2 separate regions of the Homo sapiens genome follow, and region 2 is linked to region 1. The links are contacts of gene promoters, found by promoter capture Hi-C in blood cells and fetal thymus (Javierre and others, 2016). All regions are on one chromosome and are shown on one strand. Each heading gives the region's core, a stretch centred on a gene start or on the middle of the fragment in contact. The rest is flanking DNA. Distances are from core to core; before and after follow the strand shown.

Region 1 (7,410 bases), core at 3,312-5,811:
TATACGCTGCAGTGAACCATGTCGGCCTGTGAATAGCCACTGCACTCCAGCCTGGCAACTTAGCACGGGCTCACCTCTAAAAACAATCATACTATACAATCCAGCTTAATTCACAAAATACACATAAGGTGACACACATAATGGATGTAGGAAGCAACTGAAATGTTAAAATATGATCAAACCAATTCGGATGCAATCTTAAGAATACTCCTAAGGAGGCCAGGAGTGGTGGCTCACACCTGTAATCCCAGCACTTTGGGAGGCTGACATGGGTGGATCACCTGAGGTCAGGAGTTCGAGACCAGCTTGGTCAACATGATGGACCCCTGTCTGTACTAAAAATACAAAAATTAGCCGGATGTGGTGGCAGGCGCCTGTAGTCCCATTTACTTGAGAGGCTGAGGCAGGAGAATTGCTTGAATCTGAGAGGGGGAGGTTGTAGTGAGCCGAGATTGCGCCACTGCACTCCAGCCTGGGCAACAGAGTGAGACTCTGTCTCAAAAAAAAAAAAAAAAAAAAAAAAAGGAAAAAAAAGAGGAAGAATACTCTCAAGGTTTATCATGACAGATATTTAACATAAACATAACTTTTTTTAACGCACAAAGATAGAAGATGGCAAACCAAAATTTAGAAAACTATCGATTTAGACCCTTTGTCTTCCCCAGACAAAAAAGTGATAACTGTTTTATAAAATGCTGATAATTTCTTGTATCGATTACCTGTGTTTTTCCTTATTCTCATCTCTTTAATAAACAGCCAGACTTTCCTCTCTCTCTCTTTTTAAAAATAAGAGGATTGCTGATGGAAGCTGAGGTCTCATTTTCCTAGGTTTGTATATCTGTATTCTCACTGTTCTGAGGTCTTCAGATCCTCCTTTGGGAATGGAGGGCTTATTCCTCCAGCCTCTGTGTGTGCTGGCAGCTCCCTCAGCAAAAGAGCACCACCTTGCCCAAAGCCATGGTCCCTTCCCTGGGCAAGCTGCATTCAGCAACTGGGTGATGTAGCCCTATAAAAGCCTTCTTGCCCTAAATGCAGACAACCTGTGAGGCCATTTCAGCTCCAGAGGTCCCCATGGCGTCAGCCAAGGCTTGGCTGAGACCACATCCCAGCTCAGCATCTCCATCTGTCCACCCTGCTTCCCTCCCTTCCCCTTCAGGGATGTTGATCGCAACATATGTGCTACTGGGAGGTGTGGTCCCTGACTGGGCGTCCACTTCCCAACACGAACTTGACACTATGGAAGGGGAGCACAAATCTTTGGTGGGCAGTTGGCCCCTCTGCCACACTCTGTCTCCAGGACACAGCCTTGAAGTCCATCTAGCAAATAACTCGGGGAAGGAAAGCTGTGCTATCTTCCTTGCACAGATTCAGAAAGTGTCCTCATAAAACAAAGAGGGCGCTTTTGGAATACCAGCAGGGAACATGTCTGAATTTGGGTGGGGCTTCAGGAGACCACCGGAGGCAGGATGGCAGCTGCTTAGCCTACTGTTTGGTCTAATTCCCTGAGCTGTCCTGTCCCTGGTACCATGATCGCACCGTGTTAATTAAATCATTCTCATTAATTCAGCCCAAGTGTAAATTAGGAAGGAATGAAGATAAATTAGGTTTGAAGGCAGCTAATACATTTAACCGCATGCTGCTTATTTTGCGGCCTAACAAAATAACATTGTTAGGGGAGATAACAAGCCCAAAGCCTTGGGCACAGCTTCTTAATAGCATTAAAAAATGAGACTTTGGTTTGATGTCACAAGACAGAGGCAAAGACCTGCTCCCAAGGGCCTACAGGACTGGCCTAATGTCTTGTGTGAAGTGTTGGCTATTGTGTAATGCGGATACAGTGTAAGCAGCATTTCCTGACTTGTTTGTGACTCAGATATCTGCTATGTCTATGGTCGTCCAGTTTTGATGACAGCCCTGTTTAGAAGTTTCTTCCTGTACAAAATGAAGACTTGCTCAGCTTTTCTTTGTGTGAGTGGGGTGATAAGAGTTACCTTTAGGATTGGCTGAGAGATGCTGTGGGATTACACCGTTTGAATTGCTATGATCATAAATTTGCTAACTTGCAAATCATTTTCAGCTGAGATAAGCATTAAAAACTGCCCAACTGCCCGAAAACTAGTCATAGATTGGCTCAAGCAAACCAGAGTACAGTTTGTAGGAGGTCATCAGTAGCACCCATGATTTCCAAACTTGCAAGTTTAGTTCTTGTGACTTTCAGCAGGAAAATGTTTTCCAGTTTTTAGGACTTACATAAGCTAATTTCTTTTCTCTTGTATTGCTTATCTCCCCGAGGCAGATGAAGCGAATGTATACGGTCACTGAATGCATTTCAAGATTTTCCAGTCTACAGCTTTTTTTCCCTTTCTTCTATTGAAGCATAGAAAGTGGCAACATTAGGTAGAAAAGATACAGGAAAGTGGCACCAGCGGATGGTGACACAATGGCCAGCGGATTTCTTTCCTTTCTCAGCCCTGCCTGCTTAGCAAAGTTCTTTGCAAAGGGATCTGAACTTTGCTGTTCCCTTGGTTAAGGACATCCCGCAATTTCTAGGTGGTAAAGATACATACCTGTCCCTAGTTCTGTCGCTTCCTGTGGCAAAATCCCCAACCAACCAGCTGAGCTATGTACATAGTCCATTTCTAGGCAAGGTCATCTAGGTGCCGTTTTAGGTAGATTTGACTCACAAAGGAAGCAGACAGAGTGGGTCTAGGAGGTGTCTAAAAGGTGCGTTGGTGGCTGCCTTGATGAGCTCCCCCACACCTTGCCACAGGCTACAGAAACATGTTTTAAAAAGACATATGTGCAATAGTTACACATTTCCGCCTCCCATCTTTTCAGCACCTATCTCTGGAGTCTACAGAGTTTCCATCTGTCTGGTCTTTGCTTCAGAACCTGGGTGCTGCTTGCCAGCCCTCTCCTAACCTCGCAGCCCCCCTGGCTCTCCATACGTGGTTCTTGACATGAATTGATCCGGGCTGTCTCTGTGAATCAGCCTCAAGCCGAGACTCTGCATTAAAAAATATATATATTGAAAGGTTCGTGGTGAGGCTGCCGAGTTAATGCTAACAAAGGACTTCAGAGGGCACTGTCTTTCTTTGTTTGCAAGGAGCGAAATTTCTCGGCGCAAATACCAGGAAGGAACAAGGATAAAGGAAAATGAAATTAGAATGAAGAACTGACAGTCTTGGTTTCAGCAGTCTGGACTCTGGAAGCGCCATGTGGGGCCTCCTTAGCCAGTTTAAATCGCTCCTGCGCCTAGTGTTTTAAAGCAAGCTGGGAGGCGAAGCGCGGGCGCTTGGGGACGCGGGGACCCGGGGACGGAATAAACTCTGTCGTGGGGCCCTCACTCTCGAGCTGCAGAGCTGGGACATTGTTGCTAAGTGACTACGAGCCAGGCAATTCACATCTCCCTGGGCCTCGGTTCCCCACCTGTAAAACAAGGGGGCTGGACCGGTCATCTATCCCGTTCATTTATAGACTTAGCTCCAAATACCGAATAAAAGACAGATATTTTAACTCCCAGTGGAAAGACAAGCCTCTAGTTGCAAAGATAAATGGGATTCGTAAAAGTGATCACCACGCGAGATTATTTTTCGAATCGCCTTCCCTTCTCCTGACACGCGGGACTATTAAACGTGTGTGTGTGCTGGGCCATTTCTTTACTGAACTCCAAACTAACACCACCGAGCGATAAAAAACAGGAGAAGGTGATGGAGGCTTAATCGCTAGGAGAGGAGGCGGCGTGGCTGCTGCTTTGAGGAGTTCACTTTGAATCAAGCGGCCGCGGCGATTGGCTGAAAAGCACGTGGTGCGCGCCCCGCAGGACTGCGCCCCGGCTGCCCCTGCAGTCGCCTGGCTTAGGGCAGAGTCCAGCCGGGGGTGCCGCACCCACTGGGGAGTGGGGAGGGAGGACACATAGGAAATGCCTGGGGCTGGAGTCTCTTTGGCTCTCTGCCAGCAAGAAACTTAAACGTCCTGGCTTGCTCAACCCGAGTGTCCCTAAACTGTCCAGACTTTTGCCCGTCCATTGCCACTATCTCTCCCCACTCTGGGTGTCCTACCCAAGGCGCTGTCTATGCGTGCCCAGGGCCTGTCCTGCGGATACCCAGCTCGCCCCTTGCAGCCCTTTTTAGAGCATCTCGCGGGCTCTGGCATCACCAAGCGCACAGCCCCGGGCTGCGCTCCCCTAAGGTGGGTCCCTCAGATCCGGGGCTGTCCATTAACCAGGCTGGCCCAAAGAGGCGCAGACACTCGAACCCGGGAAAACTTATTTTATTCTCGGTTCCCGGGGTTGCAGCTGCCAGCGGCTGAGACAGTGCGTCCGCTTTGTCTCTCTGCACTCCCCGCAGCCCCCCTCTCCCGCTTCCTCTCCCGATTAACTCCCCCGACACGCTCTTCTCTAGCTCCTCTCCTCCTCCCACTCCTTCTCCTCCTCTTCCTCCTCCTACACCACAGGCCGCGCTAATGCGCTTCCTCCCTCCCCCGGTGTCGGTCTCTTTGCATACGCGCCCCCTCCCCTCCCCGCCGCGCCACTTATAGCGGGGCGCACGGCGGCGGGGCGCAGACTGCTCTGGCAGCCGGAGAGGAGGCGGTGCGGCGGTGGCGCTGCGGAGACCCGGTCCAGACGCCTGGCGGCCGCCGGCACACAAGGCGCTTTCTAGCTCCCTCCCCCGAGCGCACAGCCCGCCTCCTTCCGCGGCGCCTGCAGTGGCAGGCTTGCTCTGCCCTACCGTGACGCGCTCCGGAGACGCTCTGCGGGTCCTGGACACCGGGTCCGCGGCGTGGGGACGACAGACGGAGGCGAACGCCATCGGTAGCCGGTCCGCGAGCCATCGTTCGGGGCGCAGTCCTCTCCCCGGCTGGCCCTCCTTTCTCCGGGGCATTCGCCACCGCTTCCCTGGGCTGAGACGACCGGTTCGTCGCCTCCTTGCCCGTGACCGTCGCTAGAACTCAGTTGTGCGTTGCGGCCAGTCGCCACTGCTGTAAGTTTCCCCCACTGCCCCGGACCTGTTGCAGGCGCTGCGGGCTTCAGGGGCTGCTTCGGCTGCAGGGGTGTGTTCGCGAGGGGTGAGCGTGCTCCGAGCACTCGGGAGCTTCGACTAGAGGGCAAGGGGAGCTCTTCTCGGTGCGGAGATCACGGTGCCCGCCGCTGCCCTCCCACAGCAGGCAGAAGCCGGGCATCGCCGGAGAGGTCGACCGGCCTCCCCTCCGCGGTGCAATGTCTGGGGCGAGCCGCTGGGGAAGCGAGGAGCCGAGCTAAGGATACAGTCAGCCTCTCTCCTCTGCGGAAAGCAGCGCTTTCCTGGGGGTGAATGTCGCGCTGCGTCGCTCCCCGCAGCCTCCAGGGCCGAGCGCGCGGGATGGTTGGCCCACGTTGCATCCTCCCCGGCTTGGAGGAAAGTTGGGGCCATGCACAGACACCCTGAGTGCGGGCATGTTCACTGCGGCGGAAATGTCTATAGAGAATGAATGAAAACTGCTTTCTGAAAAACTAGTTTCTTGATCTGTCGTGTTAACATTATTAGTTACAAAGGATAGGAATTGGTGGGCCTGGAGATGAAACACTGAATTTATCCACATGCGGTTTGGTGTCACACAGGCATGGCCAGCTTGTTAAATAGCGTTGCAAGTGTTAATAAAAAGACTCTGGCAAGAAGCTACTTTTGTTAACAAGATCTTTATAATGTTCTATTGTTACCGGTAATGTAAATGCCCAGAAAAAAATCTGCTTAGTTTCTCTTTTGATTGGATTGAGATCAGGTTCAAAACCTGGAGAAGGGTGCGGGACGCTAAGCATTGGAGGCAGAGAGCCTGAGTTAGGAGCATGAAGTGAACTGAAGTTACTGTAACTGAAGCCCTTTTGATGTTCACAGTAATAGCAGCCCTTTCTCTGTCTTCTTTGCAGACGTAGGTTAAGTACATGTGTGCATTTTCTTGGCCACTTACTTGGTATGCAAATGTGATTTCTCTGGGGGCTTAAAAATGCTCGAAAGATGATTCATTTTATGTTGAAGGTGTGTTCAGTGACTTGTATACATGGTTTCTGCTGATATTTTGAGGTTTGCACAGTTTTAAACCAGAAAGCAAGTATTTCCTCTTGGGTTTCCAAGTTTACTTTTTATTTTAATCAAACATTGTTGCAAGAATGTTGATTGTGATTTTGACTGTGACGTGCTTTTCCATCTGGGTGGTATCCAAGATGACAGGCTAGGCTCTTCCTTCTGGCTTGTTGGGCCAACCTGGAACATACAGGAGCATAAACACAGGATGCGGAGAGATGTAGATCCTATATCCTAAGGTCTTCTAAGCAAATTGTTTTCTTAGGTGTAAGTCTGGTTGTGAATGTTGTTTTGCACCATCCTGAATTTAATGTTCAAGGAAATGTGTTCTGGGCCTAGCATGATTCCAGCTCAATGTGTAAGCATTTTGGTGCCTGTGCACCTAGTTTCAGGGAGCCTCATTCTTCCTTCACTCAGGGCAGCATTTGCTCTGAGAGAGGCGGCAGATTCACAAGAGTAAGTAGACAGTCTATTGAGGTTTAGGTTTAAAGTCTTCCTCCAGATACTCCAGATTGAATGTACTAATTAAAATAGCAACTACAGTGGTGGAGCATTGAGAATGCTAATGAATGTTTTAACCCTTTGGAAACCTGATGCATTCCCATAGGTTCATATGGTCATTCTCCAAAACACTGGGCATTGGTTAGAATGGAGTAGACAGTAGATGCTTAGCTTGAGGTGGGAGTGAAGCTGGCTCCTCACCATTTTTTATATCTCAAGTCACTGTGGAAATTACTGGGTGCTTTGTAAAGTCTTCCTAACACTGGAGCTCTAGGACTTTGTTGCTTCCTTTCTTCCACTCAGCCATGTTTACTCATCATAAAAAATTATATTCCAAAAAGGAAAGAAAACTAGTTGCATCACCTAATGGTATGAGGTATATGTGTCATGCCCCTGCCTTTGTGGTTTTCTGTGCAGTCTTATAGTGGGGCTCACATCTGGTTGGGGAGGTGCAGGTTAGTATTTTAGCCCATGAATCTGTGGCAAATCATTCATTTGCATTTATTAATAATTCTTAGAATATGCATTTAAAAATGTCTGAATGGTTAAAGGAAACAGAGTTTCAGCTGCGCTTTTGGGACTGGCTGTTATGTGTCTGGAACAGATACTGCAACCAGCCACACAGTTTACCCTCTGGGGATAAACAGCGGGATAAACAGCTTCCTTAGGAATCCTTGGACAGGCAGGTTCTTGAGGACTTCATTCCTTTGAAGTAACAGAGGGATGGTGTAAAAGAAAAGGATGAAGGCATGTGATTCAGTTTTTGAAGATGGGTGACAAGCATTTCCTATGTCTCTACCCTACTGTTTTCTTACTGAAGAAAACCAAAAGATAGCATTAGATTCTACTA
Region 2 (7,410 bases), core at 1,556-4,055, 590 kb after region 1:
TTAGAAGTGCGTTGCAAGAATCTTCTAAACATTCCAAGGATTTAAGATAAGAGATGTGCTGAACTAAAGTTTCAGATTTTAAGCAGAATGGTAAAATAGCCATCTCTTTCACAATGAATCGTTAGAAAATGTGGGACCCAGTCTTAGAATGCTGAAAAGGCACCCACTTAGCAAAGCATTCTGCCTATACTTAGGAGAATGGCTTTTCAAGGGCATACTTTACAGGGAAAATTAACTACTTTGCTTCTTTGACAGCCATCGACTGACTTGAGAAATATGGCCCAATGGGATATAGTCTTTGGATTTGTTTTCTTTTCAAATATTGCATCCTTGAAATAACAAATCTAAGTTTTTCAAAGTTCACATTTTTTTTCTAAAATTCAAGGGCTTCAACGAGGCCAAGTTTCAGAATCTTTTCTCCAGTGAGGAACAGGGGGAGATACAGGCCAAATTCCAACATGGGCCTTTTCCTGCTTTTATGCAAATCACTCAACATGCAAATGATTAAATAATTAAACCATTATGCTGTTTAAATAAGCCATGTATATTTTCTTCATTGCTCAGACCAGCTACCATTCTTTTGTTGGAGCAATAGGAAAGGGTTAGGAAAAGTCCCCGTGGAGAGTGAGGGATTGGACCAGAAAGGGCTATAATTAGTCATTTTTGTTTAAAATAAATAAAGCAGTTGATGCTATGGAGTGAACACCAATCCCCTGTCCCCAAATGAGGGGACTGGTTTCTTTCTTCGTTGTCACCAAGGACCCCTGTTCTTCACTCTGGCCGGGTGTCAGTCACCTCAGTTTTCTGTTAGACTCGACTACATAATTATGAGCTACCACATGTGGCTTCTGAGACACAACTTTAATTATCCAAACTCTAGCACACAACAGACTCTGAATTGAGTGAACAAAAGCCTATTAGAAGGTAATCCCCTGTGGCCACATTGTAATTATTGTCAGGGGCCATGGTGGCTATGGAATTATCTCTGCAATATCTCGCTAACCTTCTATGCTAGAGTCATATGAATGATGATTTGTGCCATAATCTCATTTCTTTTAATGGTGTGACACAGAAAATAAAGGGGCAGTGGGAGGGTGGGGTAGGGAGGCGCTGCCTGGCTCTGGCACGAAACTCAATTCAGAAGGCCACCACAGATGTGCAAACACAGAACATCCAGCAATTATTGCTATGATAGCCTCTGTCCTCACACCCAGCAAGCAAGGAGCTGGGAACAGTGGGGCATTACTACTCACAAAGCTAGCAACTGAGGCACCCAGCAAGAGCAGCAAAGGCCCCTGGAGAGGAAAATAAGTAGGAACCACCCAGTGACGTGGCTTCTTTTCCAAAGATTTTCATAAACGCATAAAGGATTATTCCACTGCAATGGAAAGTTAAAAGACACTGACATGATGCTCATGGACCTTTTCTATACTATACCTACGAATGCTTTACCCCCACAAGCTGCTCATATTTTATTCTTTGGACTCCTTGAGTAGTACATTTTGCAATTCAATCCAGCTTTTTAACTTCTTTACAATGTGCAGTAGACTGGTCAGCTTCTGTTCAGAACCCTCAAGTCAGCTTGATCATGCAACTGTTAAAGGAACATGGAGAGAAAAAGTATTAGGTTCAAAAACTGCTATTTCAATTGCTTGTTGTTGTTTGTTTTTTTTAGAGATCGAGTCTTGCTCTGTCGCCCAGTCTGAAGTGCAGTGGGGAGATTCTGGCTCACTGCAACCTCCACTTCCCAGGGTTAAATGATTCTCCTGCCTCAGCCTTCAAGTAGCTGGGATTACAGGCGCATGCCGTCATGTCTGGCAAATTTTTTTTGTATTTTAGGAGAGACAGGGTTTCACCGTGTTGTCCAGGCTGGTCTTGAACTCCTGAGCTCAGGCAGTCCGCCCACCTCAGCGTCCCAAAATGCTGGGATTACAGGTATGAGCCACCGTGCCCGGCCCTTCAATTGCTTCTTTAACAAAATTGCTTTACTGGCTTTCTTTGTATTTTATTGGCTGGACAGATAATGATTTAATCACAGCATAGCCTCCTACATTACAAACATAGGAAAGCTCTGGTTTGTCACCATAGAACTTAATGACTAAACGGTATCATCATATTATCACAATGCTTTTTTCTTTCCTGCAGTTCTAATATTTTTCTCAGACCTAATATGTTCTTGGAAGATGTACTTGAACACACTTACCTCCATCCCAAGACAGCTTCTCTTCATGATTTATCTGTGTCTGTCATCGCTTCCAAATTGGCAAACAGAGGCATTCAAGGATATGCATAATGTGGAAATTCAGCGTATGAATTTCATTTATTTTCCCTTACTTCCACATGCCACATAAGCTTTCTAAACTAAATGCTAAGCGTTCCTTATTTCCCACCTTGCTGGGTTAGTGTGCTCTGTTCCCTCAGACAGGAATGTTCTTATTTATTTCCCATCCTACCCCTGATTACAACATCCTATGCATCCTTCCTGGACAATCTCAAGTACAGCTTACCTCTGCTTATTTTCCAAGGGGCTGTAGTTCTCACCTTCTTGGAACCTAAACAGCATTTTCTTTAGCATGTTCACCTCTCTCAGCACTTACTACCTCATTCCACCGTGCAATATAATCACCTGGGTGTTTCTCGCTATCTCTTTCCAGAGAGTAAGCCCCTAAAGGCAGAGATGAGGAATTACTCATCAGTTATGCATTCATTCAACCATCTATCCATGCAATAGATATTTGTCCATTTTTGGCCCAAGAACATTTATTGAGCATCTGTTAAATTCTAGGGATTGTTTCAGGCAATGAGGGTCCAAGGTTAAGAAAGACTAGGACACATTTCTCACGGTCCCTATCATCAGGAACTTAGAGTTTAGTAGAGAGAAACATCTACAGTATCATTTAGAGTGTCAGTGTTCAGAAAGGAGTGATCCTCAGTGAAGCCATAGCCAGCTCAGTGCCAAATTTGTGGCAGCTCCTCCTATTTGTTAAATTTGGTCAGAGGTAAACTGAGTAAGCCCAATTCCCCCCAAACTCATTTTTGAATATGAATAGCTTTACCTAAATGTGCTAAGATGTGTTATCCCTGATGATTCCTAAACTGGACATTTTCAGGGATATATAGCTTCAGCAATTCCTATCATTCAAAAGGCAAAAGACCCAGCACAAACTCTTCATGCATAAAACCTTCAGAGATGCTTTCTGGAAGCACATTCAGTAACATGAGTTGGAAGGTAGCAAGGAGTAGGGGAGGGGAAGCTTTAAAAATTGCTCCTTGAGAATATTCTGGTCCCTTTCTTTCGGCTGACAACTCCAATATCAGCATTTTTGGTGTCAGACCAGGGAAGTCTTCGCAGAGGAGGTACCCTTTGATCTGCATCAGAATGATCAAAGTTCATCTAAAAATCCATGGTAGGAAAAGTAAGTTGCTGGATTAATATCACCACTTTGCCTCATGCTATCTTTCATCTCTATCCCTACTCTCTACAAGATAGAGGTTATCTGTTTAAAATTGCTTTGATATCTTATTGTTTTATACAATTCTTCCTACTGAGATTTAAAGCTGCAGATAGAAAAAAACAAATGCAATATAAAAGCTGGAATTTAGTTAGTAGTAATGTTACCAATGTTGATTTCTTGGTTTTGACATATGTATGACACTTCCTATGTAAAGGGAAATTGGATGAAAGGTACAGTGTTTCTCTGCATTATCTTTGGAACTTTTTTGTAAATCTAAAATTATTCCAAAATAAAAATGTATATAAACAATAAACAAATATACCTCTCCTAAGTAGTCAATGATAAACAGGAATATTTGTTTTGTTTCCAAATATCATTTGCAAACAGGAAACAAATATGCCTTCCCCTTGCCCATATTGGTCCCTGTTTATGCTCTCATACATTCTTTCCTCAAGCTGATCTGATGATGCAAAGCATGGGCCCGCTCACCCCATCTGTAACCTCTTGAGCTCTTGAACTCTCTGAATGCAATTATAGGTCAAAGTCTTCTTGATTGGATTGGAAGAGGTGGCCCAAGTGACATTTTGCCTTGAGGCGCTAATAGTGACATAGGCTATCCCTGGGGTTCTGACCACAGCTCTGTCATTAGCCAGCTACCATTGTTTTGTTAATCTAATGCATGGTTCCATAGGAAATAACAGAGTAAAGGCTTATTAAAGGTGAAGGCTTCATCCATTAAAATGTTCTTTGTCCTTAATGAAGGTCAGTAGAAGACGGATTGTAGGAGGAAATCTTGCTTTATGCTCACCCATATGTCTTAATTAATCACCATGTCAAGCAAGTCCTCAGACTGGATTTGTGTTTGCCCTTATTCTTTAAAAGTTGTCGGAGCAGCGGTTACTGAAACAAACTCAGTGCACTCTGCCATCAGAAAACCGTGTGCTGTACAGCATCCTCCAACCTATGTATCTGAATTTATTTTCTGAAATATTTTCAAGTATGTTTTTCTTTTAATCTCTAATTTCACTAAGACTTTTAGATTTGCACTTGTCCAATATGGTAGCCACTAGTTACATACGGTTATTGAACCCTTAAAATGTGGCTAGTATAAATTGAGAGATGCTGTAAGTGTAGTTTGCTCACTGGATTTCAAAGACTTAGTACAAAAAAAGCAAAATCTCATTGATAGTTTTTGTATTGATTACATGTTAAAATTATAATATTCTTAAAATGTATTGAGTTAAATAAAATGTATTATTAGATTTTATTTCACCTGCTTGTTTTTCCTTTTTTTGATGTGGCTAGTAGAAAATTTGGAATTGCCTATGTGACCCAAATTATATTTTTGTCAGTTAACAAAATTTCCTTAGAGGATCCAGCAAAATATGTTTAGTGACTGCCTGGAACTACCTACCTTCTTCAAAAACCTATTTTAGACCTGACTTATAGGCAGTGGGGACATGGTACAAAGTGATTTTCCTTCATTCTCCATGACATAGTAAGTTAATAAAACTAGACCTAGTTGTTCCACTTGGCTCACAGTAAAAAAAAAAATTATGCAATTGAGAATCTACATGCCACTAAACTCTTAGAGGATCATGAGCTGTTTTAGGCATTGGAGATGCATACGAGATACCATCTCTCTGTAGGCCATTGGTTCTTTTCCTTGCTTGATCCTTTCTTTCCTCCTACCTCCCCAGATATTTACCACCTACTTTGACAGCTTCTTCTAATGTGTTTCCAAATGATCTTTATCTTTTATAATAGAGCCTCTGCAGCTTGACTGAGAGCTTCTTGAAGACAAAGCCTATATCTTAGTCATTGCCCTGTATTGCTCCCTCTACGGACCAGGCACTTAATGAGTTGCTCTATTTGATATATATCACAGGAATAATAATAAGAATAGGATCATTTATTGAACACTAATATATGTCTGATCTTTTTTATAGATGCTTTTCCTGTATTCTCTCATGGAACTATTAGGTAGATACAAAATCACCTATATTTTACATTTGAGGAAATTAAAGGTTGACTTGATAAGGTGGAGTTCATGCTCAGCCTGTGGTGAAAGCATAGAAAGATTGAAACTGGTTCTGGAGAGTCCTTTCAACAAGGGCACTGGTCCCTAGAAACAAAGAGCCACATTCCAGCCTTTCCATCTGCTACTCTCATTCTGGAAAGATGGTTGGATGAACACTAAGTTATTTAATTTAGATAACAATCTGTCCCACACATCCACACACCAAAAATACACGTTGATGGCCTGTTCTGGTGGAGCTGCTTAACATGGCAGCCCCATCCTCTGGAGTGAGAACAGGCTGAGGCCTCCACCCATGCCTGTGCCCAGAGTGCTAACTGGCTGGCTCATCCGGGCAAGCTCAAATCTTCATCAACCATTGTGACTGGGGACAGTCATGTCACTCATTGTTCTTGGGGAACATTATGACTTGGGCTATTTCTTGCAGCTGTGGGTTGATGTTTCCACAGTCTACTTGACAACTTAGAACAAAACATCTGGGAAAAAAACAATGATAACAGACACATGGCATTACTGAAACTCTCTTCTCCTAAAGAGTTATAGGCAAAGGGTATATAGCGGTGGAGGGAGGAGGAGACCTAGGGAGAGTCAGGGTAAGAGGCAGACAGTGAGCATCAGGTGAAATGGTAAAACGTCCACTGAGGGTCACAGGTGATATGATTCTAGTTCTGGCTCTGATGTCAATTAGTTTTATGACCTTAATTCACCTTACCAGAGTCTCAGTTGTTCATCATTAAATTAATGAGGTGATTTTGTCCCTAGAATTCATCAAAGAAACTACAACAGCATATTAAATGCTATTGTAAATATATTTCCATTTTCCAAAAAAAGGGCAAGTGCATAAACTGAATTCCCCCCTGCCAATCCTCTTCCCTGTAAATAGTACATGGAACATGTTACTGCCAGGGAAACTCATTAGAAGCAGTGTAAACTCAGAGCAAGTAGTACATACATGTTTATACTTCAACCAGCCAACATAAGGCATTAACATGAAGGTTGGGTCAATTTTCTAAACTGTAGAAATGGCTTCCTGGCTCTTGAGGTACAATGTGAAACGGTCTCCCAAATGATCATGGGTCTGTAGGAGCTTGGCTTGTCATTCATAACAGCAGTTTTTGAAAATTTCTTTCTCCAGTAGCAATTAAATTTTATACTGTGCATCGTTTATGAGATATTTTCTGCTTCTAGCTGAGTCCTATTAACCATAGAACACAAAAAGACTATCGCTCACAAGATCTAATCCCTCACAAGATCTGAAATAAGAGCACAATGCAGCTGTCCCAAACTTTTAAAACATTGCTTATAAGTAGCATGTATACAATAATTTCTTTCCTGTCTACATAAAGTTTCTGGTGAGTATACGTTTCTAGGTCTCATGGGAATACAGATGAGTTTGGAGAACACATAATATGAAGCACTATATTTGAATTGTCTGGGATATTCAGTTCTTTCACAAAGCATTGTTATTTGTAAATGTTAGCATCTAATTTTAGATGTGTCTTTCTAATTTGAAATAGTAAGCCCTTTGGGCATCAACCATGACTAATTGTATGTTTTGAAGAGTACTTAGTGCATGGTTGGTGCTCAATAAATGTTAAATAATGAAAATACTAACAATAATCATATTTTTTTAGCACATTGAGCAAAGACTGCTCCTAAATTATGTTTCTGTGTACAGCTCAGTGCATTGTTGGCAGGCAAACAACATGGAATGATAACAACACCAAATGGTCCTCTTTTATTTTCCCAGAAATAAAAGGGGAATTTAGTGACACTTAAGCTGATTTTAGGGTTTGTAGGAGGTAGATAATGGCTTCCCAAAGATGTCTGTGTTCTAATCCTTGGAACCTTTCAGTATGTTAGGCTACAGGACTGTAGATGGAATTAAGGTTGCTAATCAGCTGGCTTTGAGATGGG

Evidence for each region. The method cuts DNA at HindIII sites, captures the fragments that hold promoters and counts their contacts. A CHiCAGO score of 5 or more calls a contact.
Region 2: a contact is called between a fragment that was not itself captured here and the fragment with the promoter of ENC1 in region 1, in 3 of 17 cell types (M0 macrophages, monocytes and M2 macrophages). The highest score is 7.3, in M0 macrophages.

What each region holds. Positions count from the first base shown.
Region 1 is chr5:74,637,879-74,645,288 of GRCh38, reverse strand. It overlaps ENC1 (ectodermal-neural cortex 1), which reads left to right and starts at 4,561. Exons shown (of 3, transcript NM_003633.4): 1 at 4,561-4,982. It also overlaps a transcript of HEXB not described here. RefSeq lists silencers at 1,651-1,945, 4,453-4,712 and enhancers at 2,862-3,575, 3,576-4,291, 4,753-5,112. The HindIII fragment of the contact is 20,564 bases long and covers 1-7,410 here.
Region 2 is chr5:74,047,878-74,055,287 of GRCh38, reverse strand. All of the region lies in intron 2 of LINC02122 (long intergenic non-protein coding RNA 2122), which reads left to right. It overlaps LOC105379035 (a long non-coding RNA gene), which reads right to left. Exons shown (of 3, transcript XR_948476.3): 3 at 843-1,594. Among named protein-coding and RNA genes, the nearest start is that of LINC02122, 52 kb to the left of the region's middle. The HindIII fragment of the contact is 902 bases long and covers 2,355-3,256 here.